Linked DNA regions of Homo sapiens: region 2 is linked to region 1. The links are contacts of gene promoters, found by promoter capture Hi-C in blood cells and fetal thymus (Javierre and others, 2016). All regions are on one chromosome and are shown on one strand. Each heading gives the region's core, a stretch centred on a gene start or on the middle of the fragment in contact. The rest is flanking DNA. Distances are from core to core; before and after follow the strand shown. Region 1 holds the start of AIFM1 (apoptosis inducing factor mitochondria associated 1). Region 2 overlaps FIRRE (firre intergenic repeating RNA element).

Region 1 (3,667 bases), core at 566-3,065:
GGCGTGGTGGCGGGTGCCTGTAGTCCCAGCTACTCTGGAGGCTGAGGCAGAAGAATGGCGTGAATCCGGGAGGCGGAGATTGCAGTGAGCCGAGATCGCGCCACTGCACTCCAGCCTGGGCGACAAAGCGAGACTCCGTCTCAAAAAAAAAAAAAAAAAAAATTCAGGTTATCTCAATTTCTGTGCAACAAGCACAGAGCACCATCATTTCAATACACAAAACCCTCAAAGATGACATCCATTGATAAGGCATTAGTTTAAAAGCTAAGCAGAGGTTTTAAGTTCCAAGAGCAGTATGTCCCAGGACATAACTCAAATACACCTATCAGGAAACATTTTCATTGTGCATAGCAACTGGAAAAACTGTTCAAATGCACATTTGCAAAGACCCTAACAACCCAAGGAAAATATTTTCCACTTTTTATTTTTAAAGCACCCAGGTGTTTCTGTATTGTAAAAGCCTCAAGGATAACTTCTGACATTGCAAATGCCCTAGGGGTGGACATTGAAGGATTACTGATTTTTTTTTCAAAGCAACTCCTACAGGTGGATCATTCATTGCCCCCATGAAGTAACGCAGTACGAAAAGAAGCAGGCTCAAGCCATGCTCAGATAAATTCACGGATATCTGATGTACAATGGGCTAATTACTGGGAAGAGACCCGAATTCATTCTTAACTTTTTGAGGTCAACTTTAGGAAGCAGTATGGAGTTGCAGCGAAGGGATTAAGGACCTGGAGGCTAGCAAACTATCCTTAGCTCTACCTATTAATTAACTATGTGACCTTTGGCAAGTAATTTCACCTCTCTGTGCCTCAGTTTATTATCTATAAAATGAGTGGGTTGACCTTTACCACAAAATCCCTTCCAGCTCTAAAATTTGATGAAACAACTTAATGGAGAACAAAATACAATGCGTTCTGCAAACTGTTTCTTTGAAGCCTTAAAGACCACCAAGAAGTACACGGCTCAGGCATCTCCAATTAAGTCTGGGCCAATTCTCTGGGTGTCTGGTACACAACCAACCGACTCCTTACTTGCCCTGCACCGTTTCTGTTTCACTGGGCATTCAAATCCATGGATCTCATCTGTGGTTTGGAAGGCTGAGCAGATAACACCCTCATTTACACAAGAAACTTAGGCGTAGGGCTTAAACGTCCTGTTTAAAGTCTCAATCGGTAAATGACAAAGTCTACTTGACCTCATTGCTCTAAAAAGGGGGGTGGGGGGTGGGGATGCCGGGGAGGCGCCGACAGCCAGTTGTTCTGGGATCCCTGAACAGCAAACGCTCCCGGGAAAAGGCCTCAAGCCGACTACTGGGTTCAAATCTCTTGAAGGTCAGGTCGGCATGGCTGAGCCAATTCCTCCGCTTGCAAGACTCAGGGTTCGGAGTCTGCCAATTTGGAATTCACGTGACTATGTGTTAAGTTTCTCGCGGGGACGCGGGGGTAGAGGGCTGCAAGGCACAGGGAGCCTAAGGCGCCAGGCCCTCGGACTTGGAGGTTGCCTGGAATGGGTCAGTCACCTGGGAGCCGGTTCCTCTGCCTCGGGCTTCGGACGCACACGGTCCGCACCAAGGGCACCAGCTTCTGCTTCAAAGCACCCGCCGCCAGGCCTCCACACCGGAACATTTCGGCGACCGCTATTCGGGACCTCCTCCTTCCCTTTCCTCTCACGCACGACCGACGGGTCAAACACCGTGAGCCCCGGCCAGCTCCCCCAGTCTCTTCACACGCACATTACGCAGACTCCTCCTCCCAGCTCCGGGTGGGCATTGGACAGAGAAGCCGGCCTGCTAGAGCCGGGGAAGGGGAACGGCGACCGGAGGCCTACTGCGCAGGCGTAGCACTCGCTGCCGCATTGCGATTGGTCCGCACGGCGAGAGGATTTGCGCATGCACTAGCTGGCCGCAAGCTCGCAAAGACGCTGGCTCTAGGTAGCCGGTTTTCGCGAGTTTGTGGCACAGTGTTGGACTGAACGAGTTAAGGAACCTGTTCAAGGAGGGACTCGTGGGGCCGCTTTGATTGGCGGTTGTGCCTGGTGCTGCCGCTGTGTTGGTGACGAGAACTGATAACAGCATCTCACAACAGCGTAGCCCCGGCATCGCACTTTGTTTTTTGGTTTTAGGACACCAGTTACTTGATACCGAAGCCTTCCTGATTCTTTTGCAGTGATCCAGATCCAGTTTTTCCATGAGTCCGAGGCGCGGAACCTGGCTTCCCAGATCCGGCGTGTACTTCCATCTTTTACCAGTTGCCGGCTCTTTCCCACCCAACCCGTTTCCTGGACAAGTAATTCTGCGCTCTTCTTCCCGCCTGTCACCTTTATTTATTAGTTCAGTTGTGTGTCCTAGATGCTGTATACCAGGTGCTACAGATACACACAGTCTCCTGCTGTGGTTTCTGTGCTTGGGAGCAGGATGTTAGCAAAAAGCGTTCGTGCTTCTCGGACTTTCTGGGAAGAGAAGTCTGCTAAGCAGAACTTTCAGTTATGGGAGTAGGGTGAGGGGCTGAGTGTAAATAAGTGTTTTGACTCTGCCAGATATAAGCTAAATTGGAAATAATGTTTTGGCTGCATGCAGAACATACAATGTGCCTGTTTCAAAGATTCAGCTTACATATTCATTTAACAAGTATTTATTGAGCACTTACCTCTTGGATTGTACTATAAAAGGGGCTCTGTTGGGTATGAAAAGTACGGATGGTCCCCGACTTACCCCTCACAATGGTTCGACTTACAATTTTTCGACTTTATGATGGGTTTAATGAGACCTAACCCCATGTCAGTCGAGGAGCATCTGGACTTAAGCATGGTTCAACTTACGGTTTTTTGACTTTATGATGGGTTTATCAGGGTATTAAATGCAGTTTCGACTTAACGATATTTTCAGTTTACAATGGGTTTATTTGGACATAGCATCTATATAGGAAGTGGCCACTGTCTAGTTGGGGAGATGACATATACCGGTCATTGAAATAATATCTGGTGTAGTGCCGGACAGAGCAAGAGAGAAGACTATGGGATGGAATCACTATGGTAGAACTTCGTGTAAGAAGTTATTTGAGTTGTGTCTTGAAGGATGAGTAGTAAAATTCAAACAGTAGAGGAAAAGGATTGATATTTCAGATGGTGAATACTTTCGGACCAAAGATAACATTTTTCATTGTTAAACATGTTGACCTTGGATCCAGACCAACCCACATTGAATCCTGGCTCTGCCACCTGGGCAAGTCACTTAATTGTGCCTCATTTTCCTCATCTACAAATCTCAGGAGGGTGTTCGGAAGACTAAATGAGCTAATATTTGTAAAGTGTCTTAGAGGAAGCACCATGCTGTTTGTTAAATGAAAAGGCTTGGAACTGTTTTAAAAAACCAAAACCCAGCACATTTTCGGGGGACAATGATAGAGAGTACATACTAAGAAGTATTGATGTGGTCAGGCTCCGTGGCTCATGCCTGTAATCCCAGCACTTTGGGAGGCCTAGGCGGGTGAATCACTTTAGGTCAGGAGTTTAAGACCAGTCTGGCCAACATGGTGAAACCCCGTCTCTACAAAAAATCCAAAAATTAGCCGGGCGCCATGGCATGCGCCTGTAATCCCAGCTACTAGGGAGACTGAGGCAGGAGACTCGCTTGAACCTGCCAGGTGGAGGCTGCAGTGAGCCA
Region 2 (3,667 bases), core at 389-2,888, 1.6 Mb after region 1:
TAATTTTAAATATTTCTACTTATAAATATTTATATAAATAAAAATATTTCTATTTCTTATAAATAAATAGCTATTTTCATATTTTTAAATTATACTTTTGGATAACTAAAGTACAACTGTCAAAATGCTCATACTATAACCAAGAGAAAAAGTATAAAAGAAAAAATATGCAGGACAATGCCCAATTTTTGTAAACATGTATGTGTATATACAAATTAAAATTTATCGGCCAGGCGCACTGGCTCACACCTGTACTCCCAGCACTTTGGGAGGCCAAGGCGGGCCAATCACCTGAGGTCAGGAGTTCGAGATCAGCCTGGCCAGCATGGCGAAACTCCGTCTCTACTAAAAATATAAAAATTAGCTGGTCACGGTGGCACACGCCTGTAATCCCAGCTACTTGGGAGGCTGAGGCAGGAGAATCACTTGAACCCAGGAAGCAAGAGGTTGCAGTGAGCCGAAATTGCGTCACTGCTCTCTAGCCTGGGTGGCAGAGCAAGGCTCTGTCTCAAAAATAGAAAAAAAAGGCCGGGCACGGTGGCTCATGCCTGTAATCCCAGCACTTTGGGAGGCCGAGACGGGCAGATCATCTAAGGTCGGGAGTTTGAGACCAGCCTGACCAACATGGGGAAACCCCATCTCTACTAAAAAAAAATACGAAATTAGCCGAGTGTGGTGGCACATGCCTGTAATCCCAGCTACTAGGGAGGCTGAGGCAGGAGAATCGCTTGAACCTGGGAGGCGGAGGTTGCGGTGAGCTGAGATTGTGCCATTGCACTCCAGCCTGGGCAACAAGAGCGAAACTCCATCTCAAAAAAAAAAAATTATCAATATATTTAGGTAAATAAAGCATAAAGATGTGATCAGTGTTTGTCTCAAGACTGTGGAATGATAAATAGGGTGAACATTCCTTTCAGTGTGCCTTAGGAAGTCACGGTTCACACAGTTGTCCAACTTGGACAATAAATTATACAATTATCTAAGGAGGATACACAATGTACATTCTCTACCTAACTGCCCAATTAATTATTTAAAATGTGTTGTTTCTTTATTCATTCAAAGCATCGTGTATGTGAAAATTAAAACATGAATATATGAGGCATAAAAATATAAAAGTGTAAGAAAAGGTCATACGATAAAGTTGATAATGTTTTAACATATTAGTTCAAAACCTATGGAACAGCTTAACTCTGATGTCTTTAAATGATAATAGCTAAATATGAGTATTTATTTTGAACATCAAGTTTGAGCAACTGAAATATTTATTAGTGAGTTCTCCATCTGGAAAGACATTTAAAAAGAAGGATGCCATTTTGGTTACTTTCTAAAATATGTGAGCCAGAAAATGGAGTACGCCATAAGAGCCTGGGAAATGAGCCAGGTCAAAGACCACAACGTCTGATGGAGACAGATAGCCAAGCCTCATACAAGCTTTGGAGTTCCAGCAATATCTTTTCCTCATGCACGGACTCCTTGGGACTTGAACCTTGTATCAGAAAACTTGAAAATGGGGAAAATCCTGCATATCTAATGGTGACCGATGAGGAGATCTATGAAGCTGTAGTAGAGGAAACTGAATTACTGAAAAGAAAAGATGCCTAATGAGAGTGGGTGGTTTTAGGCTTCAGTTTGATTGTATATGGAAAGCAAAAGCAAAAGCGCAGCGGTGTGAGCAAGTTTCTTCAAACTGGGCAAGACACAAGGTAGCCATATTTCCTGGTGGCTTTGCCTGTTAGTGGTGGTTTTTTTCAGATGGAATGGGAGGGAGAAGAAGGCCTGGGGGCAGGGTTAGTTGGCTTTTCTGGGCCCATACTGCCATCGCGAGGAAGTAGTTTGACAAAAGCAAAAGCTTCGGGTTTGAACTTCCCTCCTATCTAGCAGTTAAGAAAGATGTAGCAAATTCAAAGGTTCAACAGGGCCTGACCCCAAGATGGGCCTTCTCAACTTCAACTCTTAGGCTTTCCAGGAGTTCAGTCTGGACAAAGGCAAAATCTCAGTGAAGAAGCTGCTAAGTAAGGTACCAGGACTGATGCAGGGCTTTGGTTTCCTCTCACTGTGGGCAGGACTATGGAAAAACTACAGTCTACACACAGCTTCTGGGCATTGGTCTCCTGACCCTGCCCCTTAGACCATGAGACATTTGGGCTGGCACAAGATATCCCTGTACTTTGGGGTATGGGCCCCAATGTTAGCAACGTTAGAATGTGAGGAGGGGGAAATGAATCTCATTCGAGGTGGCATCTAACAGCAGCTGGAGGTCTCAGGGACACCAAAAGTCTGGTGCCTCTGTTGCCTAGAGCAAGAAGGATCTGAGGAAAAGGAGCATGTGTCACTGTGCCAAGTCAATAAATTCCAGAACATCAATAAGAGTGCAGATATACACAACCAGAAGGCCTGGAGGTATTCTCTGAGCCCAGGAGTTAACAGCTGTAGTGGCTTTGCAGCATTTTTTTCTAGGGTCCATTGTGAAGGCATACCCACGTGGAGGGATCTGCTCTCATTTCATCTCTCTTAATGGGACAGAAATGGTTTCTTTAGCTTTCTTCTAAGGAAGATGAGGCTTTTAAGGCTCAGGATCTAACTGTTCATTAAGATTAGCAAGTATTGTTCTCTGTGCCTGCTCCTTAGCCTTTTTCTGATGAAGATTCCTTGTAGGCCTGACAAGATATCCTTCAGGGAGTTGAGTACATCAGGACCCCCAGAAAACTTGCCTCTTTAGTACCACTCTTTCGTACCAGGGATGATCTCTGTACATGATCCTTTAGAGAAAATGCTGAGCAGTCCATGAAAACAAGCATGAGTATTTTGATATTCTTTCTTCTGCTCTCTTCTAAATCTATTCCATTTGAATATTTGCATGAGTACGTGTATGTGTGACACTCATGGGTTTGTTGGTATGACTTTAGGCTTCCCCATAGTTTGCAGATCTCCTTGGGTTTTGAAATTTTTCCTTTTCCTTTTCCCTTTTATTATAAGGCCACCGCATGGGTCATTAAATATCCTTCGGATGGTTGGATTTTGTGTTACTTATAAATTTGCCCAAAGATTTTTGTTTTCTTCACCATAAAAAGTGATTTTTTAAAATTTCCATATGTAAACAGAGCAATGTATAATTTTCAGAGAAACTGATTCTTACACTGAAGGCTATTTTAAAACCTGAAAGGTATACCTTTGTTTCTTGATTTCCAATGTAAACTTTGCTTGTTACTATTTCAAACGTGGAGACATGTATAACGTTAATACTTGAGGGCATGGCCTTAAAATAATTACTCCAGGAAGGTAGACACAATGAGTATCTTCGTTAGAAGACTGCAAATTCATTCTTTAGAATTCATATATATGCACTCAACTTACAGTAGTCATACATGGAATAAGTAGAGAGAGATAGACTTTATTTTTTCCTTTGTTTTCTCTTTTTTTTTTTTTTTTTTTTTGAGACGGAGTCTTGCTTTGTCGCCCAGGCTGGAGTGCAGCGGCGGGATCTCGACTCACTGCAAGCTCCGCCTTCCAGGTTCACGCCATTCTTCTGCCTCAGCCTCCCGAGTAGCTGGGACTACAGGCACCCGCCACCATGCACAGCTAATTTTTTGTATTTTTAGTAGAGACGGGGTTTCACCATGTTAGCCAGGATAGTCTCGGTCTCCTGAACTCGTGATCTGCCTGCCTC

What was found. Contacts are between HindIII fragments. The CHiCAGO score rates a contact against its expected background, and 5 or more counts as called.
Region 2: a fragment that was not itself captured here is called in contact with the fragment with the promoter of AIFM1 in region 1 in 1 of 17 cell types (M0 macrophages); the score reaches 10.6 in M0 macrophages.

What each region holds. Positions count from the first base shown.
Region 1 is chrX:130,164,026-130,167,692 of GRCh38, forward strand. AIFM1 (apoptosis inducing factor mitochondria associated 1) reads right to left here and starts at 1,816. Exons shown (of 16, transcript NM_004208.4): 1 at 1,526-1,816. The coding sequence starts at 1,631. It also overlaps a transcript of RAB33A not described here. RefSeq lists an enhancer at 1,465-1,804. The HindIII fragment of the contact is 8,785 bases long and covers 1-3,667 here.
Region 2 is chrX:131,811,571-131,815,237 of GRCh38, forward strand. All of the region lies in intron 2 of FIRRE (firre intergenic repeating RNA element), which reads right to left. Among named protein-coding and RNA genes, the nearest start is that of FIRRE, 17 kb to the right of the region's middle. RefSeq lists an enhancer at 1,491-1,760. The HindIII fragment of the contact is 418 bases long and covers 1,430-1,847 here.